Linked DNA regions of Homo sapiens: all the other regions are linked to region 3. Evidence: promoter capture Hi-C in 16 types of primary human blood cells and fetal thymus (Javierre and others, 2016). All regions are on one chromosome and are shown on one strand. Each heading gives the region's core, a stretch centred on a gene start or on the middle of the fragment in contact. The rest is flanking DNA. Distances are from core to core; before and after follow the strand shown.

Region 1 (2,700 bases), core at 175-2,674, 2.7 Mb after region 3:
CTGTAACAACAACAAAAAGGATCACAAAAATGCAATAAATGTGTCCATTGGTGTGTTTTTTGTTGTTGTTTTTTTTTGTTTTTGTTTTTGTTTTTTGTTTTTTGAAACGGAGTTTCACTGTTGTTGCCTAGGATGGACTGTGTTGGGGTGGTCTCGGCTCACCACAACCTCCGCCTCCTGCGTTCAAGCAATTCTCCTGCCTCAGCCTCCCGGGTAGCTGGGATTACAGGCATATGCCACCAAGCCCGGCTAATTTTGTATTTTAGTCGAGATGGGGTTTCTCCATGTTGGTCAGGCTGGTCTTGAACTCCCGACCTCAGGTGATACGCCCACCTCGACCTCCCAAAGTGCTGGGATTACAGGCATGAGCCACCGCGCCTGGCCAAATGTGTCCATTTTTATCACCTGGTTCATCTAGTATTCAAAGACAAAAGACTGACAATGCACATCGCAATATTCTGTGATTCTCTTACTTGGGTATATTCCCAGAAATTGATGTCTTTAAAATCAAAAGCACTTAGGAGGTATTGATGTTAAATAATATTAGGGTGTCATGTTAGTCACTTTGTGCTGTCATAAATACCATAGAATAGGTGGCTTAAACAACAGAAACGTATTTCCTCATACTTTTGAAGCCTGGGAAATCCAAGACCAAGATGCCGTCTGATTCGGTTCCTAGTTAGGGTTTTCTTCCTGGCTTGCAGGTGGCTGCTTTCTTGCAGTGCCCTCTTTTTTGTTTCACTTTTATGTTAGTTTCAGGGGTACATGTGCAAACTGGTTCTACAAATAAATCATGTGCTGTGGGGGGCTGGTGTACACATTATCTTGTCACACAGGTAATAAGCATAGTACCCAATAGGTAGTTTTTCCATCCTCCTGCCCTCTACTCTCAAGTAGGCCTAGATGTGTATTGCTCCCTTCTTTGTGTCCGTGTGTACTCAGTATTTAGCTCCCACTTATAACTGAAAACATGTGTCCTCTTATAAGGCCACGAAGCCTATCAGATTAGAACCCTACCCTAATGGCTTCATCTAACCTTAATTGCTTCCTAAAAGCCCTATCTTCAAAAACAGTCACATTGAGGGTTAAGGCTTAAACATATGAATTTTGGGAGGACACAATTCAGCCCATAGCAAACATATTTTTAATACCAAAGAATTAATAGATTAGGAATAGAGGGCAAGCAAAGTCAGGGAAGAAGAGGAATTTTACATGGTGTGAAGAGTAAATATTTGTGTCTCTGTTTTTTAGTTACTGAAGAATGAGCTGCCCTTAAGTTTACGGACTTAAGTTTTAGTACTAGGAACAACCATTAAATAAGAAGCATTTCCTGGCAAGCTGTCCCACAGAAAGGTGTGAACTAGCATCCTTCTCACAAGTTTCCACAGAATTCTTGGCTAACTGGCATTGTTATAGCAACCAGAGTGTCAATGGAAGCAGTCATGGCCTTCGTAATCAAGTATCACTATGGCAACAGGAGCCTCTGGGAAGTAAAAGAAAAAAAAAATCTTAAACTGTCAACTGGAATCAAAGACGTTTGAAAAGGAAAAAAGGCGGAGGCTGAAATGAACATGAGGCTAGAGCAAGGGCCAGAGCAAAGAGAAATGATTGTACAGAAGCTGAACAAACAAGAGAGAAGGGAAACAATAAGCAAAACAGAGGGCAGAGACGTGGCTCGCATTAAGAAAGAGCAAGGCAGGAAGAAACGCAGAAACATAAGATAGTCAAAGCCATGTTCAAATGAGAAGATTCATAATGTTTACCAATTTTAATAGCCCAGGGTCAGATAAGCATGGAATGTTAAAGTCTATGTTGAAACTCTCTAGTATGCTAATAGAAGTATTGAAGAGATCTTTAGAATGAGGCCACGAGATAGTAAGAAAGGGGAAAACCATTTGTGGAGTGCTTTTGGCATAGCATCCTGCTGACTAGGAATTCTTGTAATATTTGGTGTTCAAAGGTACCACATTTGAATGTGAGTCTTCCTTTATTGGACAGTGTAATTGCTTCAGACAAGGGCACATTGCCATTTGGTCCATTACAAATATATGTTTTCTTCATTAAAGGATCTTAATGGATTTTTTTCCATGAAACAATTAAGGGAATTACTCTAATACTATTAAAAAGTACGTGGCAATGTCATTTGGAATAAAACATCTTCAATTGATATTTTCTATATTTTATTATCAGACAGGACTGAAGGTTTTTATGGCCCAATATTAACTTTTTGGGAAGGGAAAATATATTTTTTATAAAAGATGCCACTAAAATGTCAATACTTCATTTGTAGAATTAAGAAATGATTTTCATAAGTAAGACATTAAAAAAGGAATGAAAATAGAAATTATAGGTGCAGTCATAAATAGTCAAGAGAAAAATAACACAAGTTTGAGATTAAAACATAGAAATAAAACCAGCAGTCTGGGTGCTTTGCAGAAATCTGGTCCCACAGATTCTAATAGGATTTTTTTTTTTTAGACGGAGTCTCGCTCTGTCGCCCAGGCTGGAGTGCAGTGGCGCGATCTCTGCTGACTGCTAGCTCCGCCTCTTGGGTTCACGCCATTCTCCTGCCTCAGCCTCCCGAGTAGCTGGGACTACAGGCGGCCGCCACCATGCCCAGACAATTTTTTTGTTTGTTTGTTTTTCTGTTTTGTATTTTCAGTAGAGACGGGGTTTCACCGTGTTAGCTAGGATGGTCTC
Region 2 (2,700 bases), core at 78-2,577, 2.4 Mb before region 3:
CCTAATTCAGTATGACAGGTAACCTTATAAGAAGAGGCAATTAGGACATAGACATACGCAGAAGAAAGACCATGTGAAGACACTGGAGGAAGAAAGCCATCTACAAGTCAAGGAGAGAGGCCTCAGAATGAAATCAATCCTGCTGACATTTTGATTTGGGACTTCTGGCCTCTAGAATTGTGAGAAAAGAAATTTCTCTTATTTAAGCCATGCAGTCTGTGGTATTTTGTTACAGCAGCCTTAGCAAACTAATACACACACACACACACACACACACGCACACATACACACACAAAGGAAAACATGTTAAATGTTGAGCAATGGGGGATTAATGAAACACGTTTTGGCTCATCTGCATGATGGAGCTCCATTCCTACATTTAAAGTGATGCTGATGAACACTGTCATGGAAAGCTACTGATGCTATGTCATTATATAAAGCATATTATCCAATAGTATGTATAGCATAATATTTTATTTGTATGTGTGTGTATATATATAAAGTAAATATTAGTTTGGTCTGAGTGGTGATACATTCCTTTATTTGTTTAGGAAAGTAAAAATTTGTGCTGCTGGCTGCTGGATCATGACGTTCCCAAGTGAACACTAACAATGCTTACAGAATATAAACAATGTTCAGACAAGGCCACTCTGTGACTATGTTTGGAACAAGATAAAGATGAGGCCACTCTATAACCATAAAAATGACTAGATACATTCTTCTTTTAACAGAAGTGACTGCTATTTTCTTTCTTTTTAAATGAATGACAACTCTTACCCACTTTAGATTTTTTCCTTGCTAAGATAAAAATTTTTTCCTTGCTAAGATAAAAATTGTACCTTCATTTTGACAGAATCTCATCCAGATTTGATCCCTACTTTCCTAATTTCTCCTTAAATTTATCCATTAAATTCCCAGATCTTATAAGAAGCCCTCTCAACTCCCTCTTATCAAGAGGCTCCAGAAATCTGGTGGTTTAGGTCAATGGGCCTTAACAATTCCAAATTAGATCAATTTGTCCCCTCCCACCGACCACAACTAGCAGGACATTCCATCTCAGTTGAGTTTTAGGAGGCTCTTCTTGATTTATAAAGCTGTTGAGGATTTTAGGATGTTCATTGCCCTTTTTAAGAGGGCAGCTTCCTTTCCTCTACCAAGCTGGGCACGGGAATTTTTTGTTGTGTGCCAAGGCCAAAAACCTGGGGTTCAGTCCAGGTCACTGCTTGAGGACTGTTTGGGAGTGGGGCATAGATCTTCACCATTTCTTGAACCCAATGCCACTGGTCTCCTCCTTGGCAAAACTTCTGTCCTCCTGGCTTAGGCCTCCACTCTCAGGACTAGTCTCTTTCTGGGTGGATAGAGTGTTAGCTTTCTAGCACCTCCTGGCTTCTGGTTTGTAGCTCTGCAACTATACTTATTAACAAGTGGCTGAGGCTAGGAAGCTCAGACTTAGAACACGAAATTTGCTTGGGAGTGAGGGAGGAAAAAGCATCTCTCCTTCTTTTACAGTGGTGCATTCAGCACATACCATTTTCTAAATAACACTCTGACTCATATTCTAGAAAGGGTTTTGATATATGTCCTGCAGTGTTAAAAGTGGTATTATGGGCCTTTAAAGTGTTTACTTTTGTTACTTATTTTTACTTTCTAAATTTTCTTTCGTTGAACATTTGCTTCCAAAATCAGAAAAGTCATTTATTTTAGCTAATAAAATAACGAAACAGAATAAGAAGAAAGGAAGAATGAAATAAGTAAAACAAGCCTGTCAGTAGTGGATGTATAGACATATTGATGTAGTATGAATTTAGGACAGCCTGAAAATTGGCTTTCTCTCAGTGCATAAAGGCTGGCCCTATGGAAGTGGTAGGAGGAATGAGGTTCATTGTTGAGGAGAAATGTCTTTTGAAAGGGAAATGACATAATGGCTTTTACCCCTAGCTCATATTAGAATTACTCGATACCCAGGCCCCACCCCCAGTGATTTATGTGATTACTGTTTAAAGGAAGGAGAACATGGATGAGGAATGAGGCCCTCAATACAAAACTTCCCTATTTACATTTTTCCTTAGAGCCATCTTTGGAGGAAAGGTGGGATCAGATTATTCCCTTTTATTAGTGTTTTCTCAGATATTGTAAGGCTACCCCATTGATGTAAAAACTATGTTTACTGTTACAGGGAAGAACATTTGAAAGCAATTTTTACTTGTACATTTTATTGTATTGTATGTTAGAAAAATATGGCCGGGCAAGGTGGCTCAAGCCTGTAATCCCAACACTTTGGGAGGCCGAGGCGGGCGGATCACGAGGTCAGGAAATTGAGACCATCCTGGCTAACATGGTGAAACCCCATCTGTACTAAAAATACAAAAAAATTAGTTGTGTGTGGTGGCGGGCACCTGTAGTCCCAGCTACTTGGGAGGCTGAGGCAGGAAAATGGCGTGAACCCAGGAGGCGGAGCTTGCAGTGAGCCGAGATCGCACCACTGCACCACTGCACTCCAGCCTGGGCAACAGAGTGGGACTCCGTCTCAAAATAAATAAATAAATAAATAAAAAATATATATATACACCAAAGTCGTGATTTCATGGCAATGATATAGTTTTTAAACAACTAAGTTCATTTATGCAAAAATATAAGCCAACTGGCATACACATATTAGGTAAATTACAGTAGAGGTGGTACACAGATATGACAAGAATC
Region 3 (2,700 bases), core at 22-2,521:
GAGACAGCCTAATTGAAAGTGTATATTTATTTTTCATCCATTCATACATAAATATCTCAGCAAGGGCATTTAGTTCTCAGGACTTCAGGAAACACTATGCACGTAGAATACAATGCAAATTTTGCAAACTGAGCTGTTCCAACTTCACCCTATCCCCAAAGGATTTGGCATGACTTTCCTACGAGTAATATGATTGAGGAGGACTTTAAACATAAGAGTTTTAGCATTCATGCTATAGAAATGTCCTAAGTAACCCTCTCTATTCTCTATCTTTTACTACCCTGAAAAAAGTGATAGTTTCTCTTGAATTACTTTCAGCATCAGGATGGGAAGCAGAATAAACAAACAAATAGCTGATAAAGTTGATTTGTGAACTCCTTCTAGCTGAGAAGGACTGATTGATGTCTAGTTGGTCTTAACTTCCTATATGGTACATTAACCAGGAGGATTTTTTTAATGTAAAAATAGGATTTAGGATTTGTTAGAAAGTATTGACCTAATAAATGTCTGAGTATAATATAAAAATGTGATTTAACAATGGCCAATAATATTTAAATGTTTTAATAATTATAAAATTTTAGCAACTGAAATTTGAAAGTTTACAAATTATGCCTAGAAATTAATTTAATTCCTTCTGAAATATTTTTTCAAACATATCTTCTTTTACATTTTTAAGATGGAGAATTCAGGTTTAAAATCTGGACCTCAAGTAAAGAAATCGCCTTCATGCTTAGATGATACAATTGAACTATGTACCTGCTGCCATCTTGTGGTGGCTGAGCCTTAATTATTTATCCTGATATTCTCCATCTGCATACAAAAAAGAAAAAGAATTATGATGGACTAGAAAACTGTCAAAAAAGCAAAGTTTCTAAAAAGTAAACTGAAAAGCTAAATTTACAAACCTATGCTTATATGATGGAATGAATAACATGGAATTGTCATTTTGAAGATGACAAATAAAATAATTCAAATCTCTCATGAAGTAAACACCCTCAGAAGTATAAAACCAACTTTTTTCACTGTCAAATTTAATACTCCTTATTTTCTTTCTAAAGGTGAAAACCATTAATGAAAAGCTTACAATTGGGAAGATTTCAAAGTACTGGTCAGGATTTGTAAATGATGTCTTCACAAATGCTGACAATTTCGGAATTCATGTTCCTGCAGATCTAGATGTAACAGTCAAAGCAGCAATGATCGGTGCCTGTTTTCTCTTTGTAAGTATGGGCTTTGAGAGCATGAGTGATTTGTTATTCTCCCTCTTGCTTGTTAATTACAATATAGCCTATCCCATTTACACAGTTTTTACCCCCAAAGAGTATATTTTATTCATAGAAGGATAGCTTAGGACCAATGTTCTTCAAAAATTAGAATTTAGAACCCTGCATTTCTGTTAGGCAGCCCCTCTTCAGTGATCTCATATCCCCTTTCTCAAAGATTGAAGTGTTATCACATCCTATTCATCATTTCTTTAAAACCTAGTTTCCCCTTGCTTTTACGTTCAATTTAGATTTTTGGCTTATTTTCACTTGAACTAAAAAATATGCAAACATAAATATCACATGATTTATCCTGGATAAAGTTCCAGACTGGTTCATTGCATAATAGTGAGCTAGATGATATTAAGAATGTTGCCTTCTCAGTGTGAACATAGACACATGAAATGATTTGATGAGTTAATAGGTACCAGTTGCCATTATTTCTAAGATACTATGTTCTTGTTATTACTTTCCAACTTACAATTATATTGAAAACCTTTTCTTCTTTGGTATATGGAGATTGGTGATAGAAGAACAGAAGTCAAATAATACCTGTATCAAAATGCTTGACCTATATCCTGTTCTTAGTTTTCCCTCTAATATTTACCTAATTTCCTACCATTTTCAATGCAGCCATAAAAACTTATGGAGTTTTTATTTGTTGATATATAAACACATGTATTTTCTATAAATACATGAAAAAGATGTGTATACACAGGCACACACATAAGTGATTAAAACAAACAGCATAAGAGTTGAGAGTAGGTTGCAGACATGATGCCTTTTCCCCTAATTATATTAGTGTGCATTTCCTAAAAACAAGGAATTTTTTTACACATCACAGTACTATTGTCAAAGTCAGGCACTAAACACTGATTCAATGCTATTATCTAATCTACAGACTTTATTCGGTTTGCACTGATTTGCATAATGATGTCCTTTCTGACAATAGAAAATCCAAGATCATGAAGTATGTCCATTTTGTCACATCTCATTTGTTTCTTTTCACCTGGAACTGTTCCTAAGGGGTGTGTGTGTGTGTATATGTGTGTGCATGAACATGTGCACATGCATGTGCATTTCCCTGAGTCTCATGACATTGGCATTTTTGTTTTTGTTTTATTTTTTGTTCTATTTTTTGAGATAGAGTCTCACTCTGTCACCCAGGCTGGAGTGCAGTGGCGCAATCTTGGCTCACCACAACCTCTGCCTCCCAGGTTCAAGCGATTCTCCTGCCTCAGCCTCCCGAGTAGCTGGGATTACAGGCATGTGCCACCATACCCGGCTAATTTTTTTGTATTTTTAGTAGAGATGGGGTTTCACTGTGTTAGCCAGGATGGTCTCGATCTTCTGACCTCGTGATCCACCCGCTTTGGCCTCCCAAAGTGCTGGGATTATAGGTGTGAGCCACCTTGCCCAGCCGACATTGGCATTTTTT

The links. The method cuts DNA at HindIII sites, captures the fragments that hold promoters and counts their contacts. A CHiCAGO score of 5 or more calls a contact.
Region 1: a fragment that was not itself captured here is called in contact with the fragment with the promoter of PLSCR5-AS1 in region 3 in 1 of 17 cell types (activated CD4 T cells); the score reaches 5.0 in activated CD4 T cells.
Region 2: a fragment that was not itself captured here is called in contact with the fragment with the promoter of PLSCR5-AS1 in region 3 in 5 of 17 cell types (M1 macrophages, naive B cells, M2 macrophages and 2 more); the score reaches 10.8 in M1 macrophages.

Annotation. Positions count from the first base shown.
Region 1 is chr3:143,896,924-143,899,623 of GRCh38, reverse strand. No RefSeq gene overlaps it. Among named protein-coding and RNA genes, the nearest start is that of SLC9A9, 50 kb to the right of the region's middle. The HindIII fragment of the contact is 3,266 bases long and covers 1-2,700 here.
Region 2 is chr3:148,949,701-148,952,400 of GRCh38, reverse strand. The region is part of intron 2 of LOC107986045 (a long non-coding RNA gene); the gene reads right to left. Among named protein-coding and RNA genes, the nearest start is that of GYG1, 40 kb to the left of the region's middle. The HindIII fragment of the contact is 6,256 bases long and covers 1-2,700 here.
Region 3 is chr3:146,588,173-146,590,872 of GRCh38, reverse strand. PLSCR5-AS1 (PLSCR5 antisense RNA 1) reads right to left here and starts at 1,271. Exons shown (of 2, transcript NR_046698.1): 1 at 1,085-1,271; 2 at 548-810. PLSCR5 (phospholipid scramblase family member 5) reads left to right here. Exons shown (of 8, transcript NM_001085420.2): 6 at 1,059-1,220. The HindIII fragment of the contact is 1,724 bases long and covers 1,082-2,700 here.